4 separate regions of the Homo sapiens genome follow, and all the other regions are linked to region 2. The links are contacts of gene promoters, found by promoter capture Hi-C in blood cells and fetal thymus (Javierre and others, 2016). All regions are on one chromosome and are shown on one strand. The core of a region is centred on a gene start or on the middle of the fragment in contact, and the rest is flanking DNA. Distances in the headings are between cores, read along the strand shown.

Region 1 (2,903 bases), core at 75-2,574, 550 kb after region 2:
GCGGGCGGATCACCTGAGGTCAGGAGTTCGAGAATAGCCTGGCCAAGGTGGTGAAAACCCGTCTCTACTAAAAATACAAAAATTAGCCGGGCGTGATGGCGCGTGCCTGTAATATCAGCTACTTGGGAGGCTGAGGCAGGAGAATCACTTGAACCCAGGAAGGCAGAGGTTGCAGTGAGCCGAGATCGCGCCACAGCACTCCAGCCTGGGCGACAGAGACTCCATCTCAAACAAGACAACAACAACAAAAAATGAGCATACAGTGATCTTTATTCAACTTCCCAAGATCCAGTCCTCAGCTAATTTACAAAACTACAATAGTGTTACATACTCTCCTAGGTCTACACGGCAAAGTACAGTTTGACTGTTGCAACTAGTGCTGCCTTACAAAAAAAGGCTTTATCCCATGCCACCCATCCTAAACCCAGCTGTTCAGAGCAGTGTACCTGGAAATCAGCCTCAAAGTACGGACTGCAAGACAAGGCACAAGGAAACCCTAACACGAAGTCCTATGTTCTGGGCAAAGGGATGGGGATGGCAGGTGGGACGCACCCAGGTCAGGGCGAGGGCGCGGCAAGTTTTCTATTAAATCTCAGTAGATTACAACTCATATCCAATGTCTGATATATTTTCGAGGGAAAATGGTGCTTGAAAGATGTTTCTACGAGAAATAAGCTTCATCTCGGTCAATCTGTTCGACCCAACTTCTGGCAGCAGGTGTGGGGGCGGCGCCAAGGTCTGCGCGGTAATCCAAACAGGCAGTCCCACCCAGGGCCACCCCAAAGCCAGATGCTCCGACGCAACTCGAGCAGGCCACACTGTCTTTCGGACAAAGCGACGCGGTCCTCACAGGCGGGAAGGAGAGTGCGTCCCGGTCGGGAAGGACGCCGTCGGAGAGCGGCCTAACCACGTGACGCCCGCGGCGACCTTGGGGGTCACCCCTGCGGACGCACCGCCCTCTCCCTCACATCCGCCGCCGCGCCCGCCCCCCGCTCGCCCACCGCCAATGGCGCGTCGCTCCGCGCCCCGCGCGACCTCGGAGCCCGCCCGTACCCGCCAATCTCCGCCCGCCGGGCAGGCCCCGCGGCTCCATTGGCTGCCACGGCCATCCATCAGGTCCCGTCCCTCCTACCACCCTCCGTGAGCCCCACTCCATCCAGCTCCACTCCCCTGTCACCGCGGCGCCCGCAGCACCAAGGGCGCGGCGGCCTCCCCCTTTACCGCGATCTCCAACCCCGGGCCGCCAAGCGCCGCGACACCCGGCACTGGGACGGGCGCGGCGACAGCGCACGGTTACCTGTCTCCGGCTCAGCTCCACCCGAATGAGGCGCCGACACCCCACTCCGGGGCTCCAAACTCTCGGCCCCGCCCCGGCGTATGGCGTCAACACGTAGCCCTCCCCTGGAGAAGAATGCCCTCCCCTCTTACAGAGGACCGATTCGTGACGTCACAGAGCCGCGCCGGGCGTCACAGCGCCGACTGCGCAGTTGCAGAAGCCAGGGCCAGCTGGAGCCCAGCTGTTTGCTCCGCTAGAGAGATGAGGTTGTCTATGGACTTCCAGCGGCTTCTGCTATCATAAATAATTTCTGAAAGTAAGATATCTCTAGCGCCTGGTAGGAACCTATCAAGAGATAGTTGGGTTGATGTGAAACTTAGCGCACAAAAATAAACAATTTGAATAACAGAATCTCCGTTTTTGAGATTGTCCTGGGTCAGGCTTTGTGACAAGCGCTTCACCGGCGCTATTGTGTAACAATCTGTGAGACAGGTGTTCCTATCCCCGGTCTACAAATGACAGTTGGCAGTGCTGGGATCTTGCCCGGGATCTTGCCTGGGTTTTCTTGACTTTAGAGCTACCTATCAAAGATAAAACGTGGCTAATTAACCTGTCACAACCTGTTGATTGTAAGATGTTCCCTATTTTAAAGTATTAAAATTTGGGGAAAGGCCGGGCGCGGTGGCTCACGCCTGTAATCCCAGTACTTTGGGAGGCCGAAGCGGGCGGATCACTTGAGGTCAGGAGTTCGAGACCAGCTTGACCAACATGGGGAAACCCCGTCTCTACTAAAAATACAAAAATTAGCTGGGCGTGGTGGCGATCCCAGCTACTCGGGAGGCTGAGGCAGGAGAGTCGCTAGAACCCGGGAGACGGAGGTTGCGGTGTGCCGAGATCGTGCCATTGCACTCCAGCCTGGGCAACAAGAGCGAAAATCCGTCTCAAAAAACAAACAAAAAAAGGGGGCGTATAAGTGCTTATTATAGAACAAAGTTAGGGTAATGTATGTGACAAGGATCTAGAGACTGGAAGAGGTGAAGAGACCAAGGAACAAACTTCTGTATTCTTTTTTCCTTTTTTTTTTTTAAATAAATTACGGTAAAAATGTATGTACTAAACATTTGCAGCTGGGTGCAGTGGCTCACGCTTGTAATCCCAGCACTTCGGGAGGTGGAGGCGGGAGGATCGCTTGAGCTCAGGAGTTCCAGATCAGCCTGGGGAACAGAGCAAGATCTCATTTCTACTAAAAAATCAAGAAAATTAGCCAGGTGTAGTGGCACTCACCTGTAGTCTCAGCTAATTGGGAGGCTGAGGCAGGAGGATCTCTTGAGCCTGAGAGATTGAGGCTGCAGTGAGCTATGATTGTACCACTGCACTCCAGCCTGGGCCAGAGAGCAAGATACTGTCTTTTTTTTTTTAATGCCATTTTAACCATTTTTAGGTGTATAACTCAGTGGCATTAATTACATTCACAATATTATGCAACCGTCACCACTCAATTTCCAAAACTTTTTCATCACCTGAAACAGCAACTCTGTAACCATTAAGCAATAACTTCCTATTTCCCCTTCTCCTCCTGTCCTTCTCTCCTTTGGTAACCTCTATTATACGGTCTCTATACATTTGA
Region 2 (2,700 bases), core at 25-2,524:
AGATGATCAGGAAAGCCTCAGCTTCTCCCAGAATGAATTGAGAGGACCTTCCTTCCACTATAGCGACCAAGATCTCCACCTAAGGGGCGCTCACTGGAAGTTTGCTGAAATCCCAAATCAGCATGCTCCTGATTTCAGAAGCTGCCATCCACCTTTGCACTTCAACACAAAATCCACCACATCCTAGGCTCCAGCCCTGGAACACCAAATGAAGCCACACAAGTTCTGCACACCAAGACCTCTTCAATGGAAGGAAAATGACCACTGAGTTTGGTCCACCCTTTTCCCACCTCCCGTACCAAATCCCAAATCATCAAAACAGGCCCAACTCTGCATCTTACAGCCAGGGAAACTGGGGACCACCAGGCCAGGGCCCTCCATCACCAATGTCCCCCCCAGAACTGGCCAGGCTCAGTCACCACTCAGTGGACCCCAGCCCTCAGCAAGCACTCTTCCCCAACAGCCTTTACACACATTCTCTCTCTCTCTCTCTCTCTTACTTTTTCTTGGATAATTTCTTTAGCAAGGTACTTCAAAACAAGCTTTTAGTTTAATCTATTTCCATTTTGTGAGCAATGGTTCTTCCTAGAGTCCTGATTTCTTGCCGAAGAAGGCATTAGGAGAGGATGGCTCAGAGAGTCGCCCCGCTTCCCCTCTCAGCCAGTTCCAGGACACACACAGGCGTCCACACACTGAGGGGCCCTGGGAGGACCAGCTACCCAGTCCGGAGTCCACCCGCCCACGCCCCTGTGAGTGGTGGGCAGGCACTCAATGCCAGGACAGAGAGCTCACTACCTTACAGACAGCCCACCCTGGGGGATAAGGGGTAAAGAGCCAGACCTGGTCCACCTCTTCTCGCCCACCCTGAGGCGACCCCAGAACCGGGGCGTGGGGGGACATCACAACTAGAAGGACCGGGGGCTGCCGGACCCTGCCGTCAGAAGACCCCGGAGGGGGCCCTGTGCCTCCCTTGCCCGCCAGAGTCCTTCGCCTTCAGCTTCTCCCGGGTGGAACCCTCCCGCAGAGCCTGGGAATCCCGCCAGGGTCACTGTGCGCCCCTCCCGAGCTCCGGGGCAAGGGAAGGACCGCGGCGCAGGTGCGGGAAGGCGCGGGTCCACCCGGGTCCGGTGAACCCCGAGGAGTGGGGGCGCCCCCGGTGCGGGCCGTCGCCCCCTTACCGCAGAGCAGCAGCAGCAACGGGAGAAGTTGCGGGCGCCGCAGCGCTCCAGTCTCCATGGCTGGCCGGCCGCAGCTGGGTCACGCTCGGTCCCGCTGGGGGCGCGGCTGGGGGACGCCCGGTTGGGGTTGGGGTGGGGCGGGGCCTCAGGGGGTCCGCCCTCAGGCCGCACCCCCAGACCACGCCTGCGGCCGTGCCCCGTTGCCTCCAGATGTGGGGTGCAGTCCCTGCAGGCGCGCCGGGTGGGAGGGATGGGGGCGGCTGGAGTCTCAGCGGGGTGAGAGGGGGGCGAGGGCAGGGTTTCGAGCTGGGGACAAGCTGGGGTAAGGTGGGGTGCCGGCTGATGGGCTCTGAGGGCGGGGCTGGGGTGCTGAGCTGCAAAGGAGCTTTTTGGGAGCAGATTGTAGGGGCAGACTGGGAGGTGAGCTGGGGTGAGCGTGGGGGCCGGCTGACGGTGGGCTGGGATGCAGGCTGGAGAGACTTGGGGAACTTCCGTCCAGGCTCAGGGGCAGAGGGTGGGGGTAGACCGGGGAGGGAGCTGAGGTGAGGATGAAGCGCTGGCTGATGATGGCCTAGAGGAGTCTGGGGGTAGACTGGAGGAAGGTGGACCTGGGAGTGGGCTAGGTGTGCCCTGGCCGAAAGTAGACCAGAGTCCAGAGCTGCCCCCAGGCAGGGAGGGGAACTTTGAGCAGAGATACATCTAGGAGCCAGGTCTCCAAAGGTCAGGAAAGTGCATAAAAGAGGTTGGGGGGTGTGTGTGTGTGCGTCTGTGTGTGTGCGTGTGTGTGTTGTTCATGGAGTACGTGTGTGTGATGTGCATGTGGGGTGTGTGTAGATGCATGTGTGTGCATGGAGTGTGTGATGTATGGTGTGTGTGTGGCATGTGTGTGTTTGAGTCTGAGACAAGGTGTGTTTGTGAGTGTATGCTTGGGAAACAGTGTGTATGAGAGAGACTGGAGGGTGTGGCAACTACACACACAGAGACGTATCACACACCAAGAACCAAGCCACAAGCAAACCAAGGGACAGGAGAGTATCTGGCACCACCAAAGACCTGGCCTTGAAGAGTGTCAGGGTCCCTGAGGCGAAGGAGGGCCTCAGTTTCTCCAGCCACAGGTCACTTGGCCAGATGGGTCACCTCTGTCACCCTCAGCCCCTAGCACAGGCCCTGGCTCCAGTGGACACTTAATGGTGTCTTAAGAATTGTCACTGGTCAGGACTTCCGAGAGCCAGCTAGAGGCACCTCTCTGCCCTCCAGGGCCCACCCACCACCCCTGGGGGCACATGCTGGTCTGAGGTTGGGGCACAGGCCCAGGCTCCTACATGGATGGGCCCTCCACTCCTCTGAGCCGTAGGTACTGCTACCTTCCCAGGAGCTGAGCTGAACTTCTCCTGGCTTAGAAAGACCCACTTTATTTAACAAGACCCTTATTCGGGAGAAGAACTTTCTGTGCTTTTTTACTGAAGAAATTCTGATTACAGCCAGAATTAATTCAAAGGAGTCAAAACTAATTAAAATTGAT
Region 3 (2,700 bases), core at 45-2,544, 580 kb after region 2:
TGGTAGGTAGAATAATGGCCTACCACTCTGAAACATATGAATATGTTACCTAACATGACAGAAGAGAATTAAGTTGCTAATCAGATGACTGTAAAATAAATTATCCTGGATCATCTGGATGGGCCTAATGTAATCACAAAGGTTGTTTCCTTGCCTTTTCCAGCTTGGCTCTGGCTCCCTTCCTCCAGCAAGGGTGGGTTGAGCTCTCACATGGCACCACTTTGACCTCTTCTGCTTCCCTCTTCTACACTGAAAGACTTATGGGCCAGGAGCAGTGGCTCGCACCTGCAATCCCAGCACTTTGGGAGGCCGAGGAAGGCAGATCGCTTGGCCCCAGGAGTTCAAAACCGTCCTGGGCAACGTGGCGAAACCCCATCTAGAAAGAAAAGAAGAGAAGGGGAGGGGGGAGGGGAGGAGGAGTTACATATATACACATACACACACACACACACGTACGTACATACATACATACACGCTAACTGGACGTGGTGGTGCGTGCCTGTAGTCTTAGCTTTCCAGGAGACTGAGGTGGGAGGACCACTTGAGCCTGAGATCGCGCCAGCCTGGGTGACAGTCAGACCATGTCTCAAAAAAAAAAAAAGATTTGTGATTAGGATTCTTAGTCCTCACCTGTATTATTTTCCTATTGCTACTGTAACAAATTACCACAAATTTACTGGCTTAAAACGACGCAAGTCTGTAGGTCAGAAGTCTGACACGGGTCTTAACTGGTGACCCGAGTCAGATTTGGGACACAAAGAACAGAAACCAAGCTGTGCAGGTTTCTGACAGGCAGTCCGGTTAGGGAGCCCTACAGCAACCCGCCGGTCCTCTCTCTCAGGCAGTTGCTGCCATGGCTCATTATTCCAACCGGTTCTCCTCAGCCCAGTCTATCTCAGTGGCTCCATTCATAGGGTGATGTGCCCGGCGGGACACTAACCCTAACCAAGCAGAGAGACGGTCATGCCCGTCACGACCTCGGCCCTCGCCCCGGCCGAGGCTTCTCCTGCAGGTCGCGAGAATCAGGTGCGTCAGCGGCGTCCGGGAACGCCGGAAGAGCCAGTGGAGCGGCTCTGTAGTCCAAAGTACCCCGTCGACCCCAGCACGGCCGCTCCACCGCCTCCTACTAGACCCAGTCCTAGGGACTGCGCAGTCGCAGAGCTCCGTCCGAGTACCGGAAGCCTAGGCCGCCAGCACTTCCGGGAAGTGACTTCGTCTCCGAAGCCGATTGGTTGTTGCTTTGCTCCCGCTCGCGTCGGTGGCGTTTTTCCTGCAGCGCGTGCGTGCTGCGCTACTGAGCAGCGCCATGGAGGACTCTGAAGCACTGGGCTTCGAACACATGGGCCTCGATCCCCGGCTCCTTCAGGTACACGCGAGGGCTGGGGAGCCGGCTTACGGGCTCTGCGGGGCGCGCCATCGCTCTTCACGCCGCTTAAACCGCACTCCTGGTCTCCTAGGCTGTCACCGATCTGGGCTGGTCGCGACCTACGCTGATCCAGGAGAAGGCCATCCCACTGGCCCTAGAAGGGAAGGACCTCCTGGCTCGGGCCCGCACGGGCTCCGGGAAGACGGCCGCTTATGCTATTCCGATGCTGCAGCTGTTGCTCCATAGGAAGGCGGTGGGTAACGAGAGAGCTGAGGGGAGGAAGGAGGCAAGCTCCAAAAGCCTGGGAAGGGCGGTTCCCGTTTGTCTGAGGTTTTCTCTTGGCCCTGTACCCGTGCAGGCCGGCCTGAGAACCTGGTGCTGTTGTGGCAAACACTCTGGGCTGGAGTTCAGGTTACCTGGATCCTTGTCCGGCCCTGCTACCACCAACCTTTGCGTAATCTTCGACAAAGCACTTTCTTTTCTTTCTTACATAAAAAGGGAGCACATCTATCTTTTCTACTTACAGAATTATTGTGAGAATTTAGCTTCATAACTAGTATATTTAAAGTAGCTTCATAAACATCAGAGTACGTTATTCTTTTTGAGGGTCAGTGCCTGGGGAAAGAACTCTCCACTCTGCATTCTGAGGCGGGCAGAGTGATAGATGATCAAAGTACTGCTAAGTAGTGTTGCAGCAGATGGGTCAGGTAGGCTGGAAGGGGTAGAGACACGTGGACACAGTGATGTGCACTGCTGGCTAAAGTCTTTAATTCATATTCTTACAGACAGGTCCGGTGGTAGAACAGGCAGTGAGAGGCCTTGTTCTTGTTCCTACCAAGGAGCTGGCACGGCAAGCACAGTCCATGATTCAGCAGCTGGCTACCTACTGTGCTCGGGATGTCCGAGTGGCCAATGTCTCAGCTGCTGAAGACTCAGTCTCTCAGAGGTGGGTAAAAGCAGCAAAGCTGTACCTGAATGAAGCTACACAGTGTTGTGGGGTTGGGTTTGTGTGTGGCAAAAAAGAGAGCAAATCCAGGGTGAGATCCCAGCTGCTACATTCTGCCTGATACTGATGTCTTGTCCACCTCCAGAGCTGTGCTGATGGAGAAGCCAGATGTGGTAGTAGGGACCCCATCTCGCATATTAAGCCACTTGCAGCAAGACAGCCTGAAACTTCGTGACTCCCTGGAGCTTTTGGTGGTGGACGAAGCTGACCTTCTTTTTTCCTTTGGCTTTGAAGAAGAGCTCAAGAGTCTCCTCTGGTAAGGCAGAGGTGGGTGTGATTCCTAGTGGAAACATCTGTGAGTAGGAGTTGGGACGAGAGCGGGGTGGCT
Region 4 (2,832 bases), core at 121-2,620, 520 kb before region 2:
TCTGGGCAGATGACTTAGCGCCCCAATCCCACAGATCATGTGTTTTTTAGAACCGAGAGTTTTCTTAATTTGAATATTATTTTTATGGACAGATTGGGTGCAGATTTTGCTTCCTGGTTTCATGAGCACATCCCTTAGCCTGCCTGAGCCCACTTTCCTCACATGTGGGAAAGGGGCTGACCCGTCTCACCACCTGGCTTGGGAGGCTCTCGTGGAGTCACAGAAAGCAGTGTACATCCACTCGCAAGAATCAGTATTCCTGGGCCAGGACCTTTGGGCAGAGCTTTCCAGGCTGGCGCATTCCTTGGCTTCTGCTTTGTCATCGCTCTTCTTGCCCAATGGCTTTTCACACTTTCTGCATGTCTAATGCTATTTGTACACCATTGGGTGGGCACACTGGTTCCCACCACTGAGGACTAAGGAATAGGCTTTAAAAACTATCATCCTTCTGTCCTGCTTTCACTTGAAATTATATGAAAAACAGCAGTTTTACTTGAAGTGGTAAATTTTAAAATTTGTCAAACCAAATGTCACTCAATCTATACAAGTCAAAGAAATAGGAATGAAGTTTTAATAGTTAGCATTTTTTTAATTTAAAAACTCAAGATATTACCTATGAATAATGACAAAGTTAAATGAATGAAACTAGATTTAATCTTTTCAAAAAGTTGCTGTTTTCAGTAATTATGCAAATATAACACTGGGTCTGCCAGAAGTGACATCCTGGGGTCGGCTGAGGGAAACGAGTCGTTTAGAAATGAAGGTGGAGAATGTGATGAAGGAATGCAGGACTAGGAACTATACAGTCCTCCAAGTGAGCCACAGATAGTACAAGGCCGCAAAGCTCACGTCTTTCCTGCAAAAGCCCACAGAGCAAAGCAGATGAGGCATCAGGGCCCAGATAGCACAATGTACCTGGAAAATGTCACCCCTCTCCAAAGTCTGTGACATAAACACAGAATAAACATCCCTCTTCTGTCCTGCTGCTAGACTCTCCATTCCAAGAGAACAGGATCAGTATCTTGTGCTCATTTGTTTAATCAATATCAATCGCCAGTCTATTGTGCCCACCAGGTACACTCCCAAAGGAGTGCATGTGCCCAGTGCAGAACTGGGTCTTCATGAGCACCTGCTATATGAGCAGACTCTTTCTTCCTGTCTAGGCAGGGGAGGGAACAGAACTGCCTCCCCTATCCCACCCCATCCCACCCAGAGGGCAGGCAGAGGCCACCCTCATACCTGGACCAGGTGATATGCAGGTACAGGACACAGGCCACCCACATACCTGAACAAGGTGATATGCAGGTATAGGACACAGGCCACCCTCATACCTGGACCAGGTGATATGCAGGTGCAGGATACAGGCCACTCACATACATGAACCAGGTGATATGCAGGTACAGGACACAGGCCACCCACATACCTGGACCCGGGTGATGTGCAGGTACAGGACACAGGCCACCAGGAAGCAGATGCAGAATACTAGCAGGAGCAGGACGACCACACTCCTGGGGGACAGAAAACATGAGAGTCACTGATAGGTGGGGATTAGGAGAGGCGGACCCAAGAGATGGCTGAGAATTGGCCCCTCCCTCCACATCCCCTGTGCTCTCAGGAGGAAGCAGCATCGTTAACCTGGATGCCTGCCACTCAGGTCTCTGGGAACTGACATGGCTGGTTCTATTTTTTAGGGCAGGGCATCTGGGGTTCCTGAGTAAGAAGGGGGCCCCTCCTGAGTCTACCTCCCACTTCTCCTACCCCCACCGCAGAGATCTAGCTTAGGCTGAGAATCACAGAACTTTTCTGGAAGCCGTTTTCCTCATGATGGAAAGACAAGAGTTTCCCAGACTTTGCTGAGCTATTCTCTAGCTGGGCTTTGTCTGGGAAGGGCATTTTTAGAAAACGCTTAAATCCCAAATAGGCCCATGAGGCAGGCTGCTGTGTTCAGTGTCTGTGGGCTGGGCAGGATGCAGAGCACCCAGGGCTGAACTCCCTCCTCCTCCGCAGGTGTGGGGTGGCCTCCATGTGCTTTCAAACTCAGAGGAGGTAGTATTCCCGTAGGTAGGTTTTATTAAGAAATGAGTACACTTGAAAGTAAAGTGGCAAGTGCAGACTCAGTGGTGTCTTTCTTGCAAAAAAAATAAAATAAAATAAAAGCTGCCAAACTCACATTTACTTATATGATGTTTAAATGTTATTTAAACTACTGTTTTTCTTCCTTTTAAGAGGGATTTTAAGTTTTTGAAAATGACATGGATTTAGAAGCCAATGAGCTCATTAAGTGCAGTTTCTTCTCAAAAGTTATTGTTATTATTATTATTATTATTTTTAGAGACAAAGTCTCACTATGTCATCCAGGCTGGAGTGTAGTGGTGAGATCATAGCTCACTGCAGCTTAGACTCCTGAGCTCAAGGGATCCTCCTGCCTCAGCTTCCTGAGTAGCTGGGACTACTACAAGCAAGTGCTGCCATGCCTGGCTAATTTTTTTTTTTTTTTTTTTTGTAGATAGAGTGTTGCTATATTGCTCAGGCTGGTCTTGAACTACTGGCCTCAAATAATCCTCCTGCTTCAGCCTCCCAAAGTGCTGGGGTTACAGGTATGAGCCACTACACCCAGCCAAAAGCTATTATTACAGCAATGGTGCATGTTGCATGGATGAAAAAGCATGAAAATATATTGTGTCTTAGAATTAAGTAAATTCAAAATTTAAAATGGAAAGTGACCAGTCCCATGCCATATACCATCAAGGCTTGTTACACTACTGACTTGAGAAAATGAGGAAATGATGGCTGGCTAATGTCAGCCATGTTGGGCACATTGGGACAATAACT

The links. The method cuts DNA at HindIII sites, captures the fragments that hold promoters and counts their contacts. A CHiCAGO score of 5 or more calls a contact.
Region 1: a contact is called between the fragment with the promoter of OGDH here and the fragment with the promoter of RAMP3 in region 2, in 5 of 17 cell types (fetal thymus, total B cells, naive B cells and 2 more). The highest score is 11.3, in fetal thymus.
Region 3: a contact is called between the fragment with the promoter of DDX56 here and the fragment with the promoter of RAMP3 in region 2, in 7 of 17 cell types (monocytes, naive B cells, total CD4 T cells and 4 more). The highest score is 8.8, in monocytes.
Region 4: a contact is called between a fragment that was not itself captured here and the fragment with the promoter of RAMP3 in region 2, in 1 of 17 cell types (M1 macrophages). The highest score is 5.1, in M1 macrophages.

The regions. Positions count from the first base shown.
Region 1 is chr7:44,605,048-44,607,950 of GRCh38, reverse strand. It overlaps OGDH (oxoglutarate dehydrogenase), which reads right to left and starts at 1,324. Exons shown (of 23, transcript NM_002541.4): 1 at 1,298-1,324. RefSeq lists enhancers at 335-674, 350-913, 1,165-1,764 and a silencer at 895-1,124. The HindIII fragment of the contact is 8,395 bases long and covers 678-2,903 here.
Region 2 is chr7:45,156,365-45,159,064 of GRCh38, reverse strand. It overlaps RAMP3 (receptor activity modifying protein 3), which reads right to left and starts at 1,274. Exons shown (of 3, transcript NM_005856.3): 1 at 1,179-1,274. The coding sequence starts at 1,236. The HindIII fragment of the contact is 23,160 bases long and covers 545-2,700 here.
Region 3 is chr7:44,572,502-44,575,201 of GRCh38, reverse strand. It overlaps DDX56 (DEAD-box helicase 56), which reads left to right and starts at 1,294. Exons shown (of 14, transcript NM_019082.4): 1 at 1,294-1,366; 2 at 1,458-1,619; 3 at 2,152-2,312; 4 at 2,458-2,628. The coding sequence starts at 1,307. RefSeq lists an enhancer at 1,528-1,677. The HindIII fragment of the contact is 6,359 bases long and covers 1-2,700 here.
Region 4 is chr7:45,678,385-45,681,216 of GRCh38, reverse strand. ADCY1 (adenylate cyclase 1) reads right to left here. Exons shown (of 20, transcript NM_021116.4): 11 at 1,424-1,508. Among named protein-coding and RNA genes, the nearest start is that of ADCY1, 110 kb to the right of the region's middle. The HindIII fragment of the contact is 2,955 bases long and covers 1-2,832 here.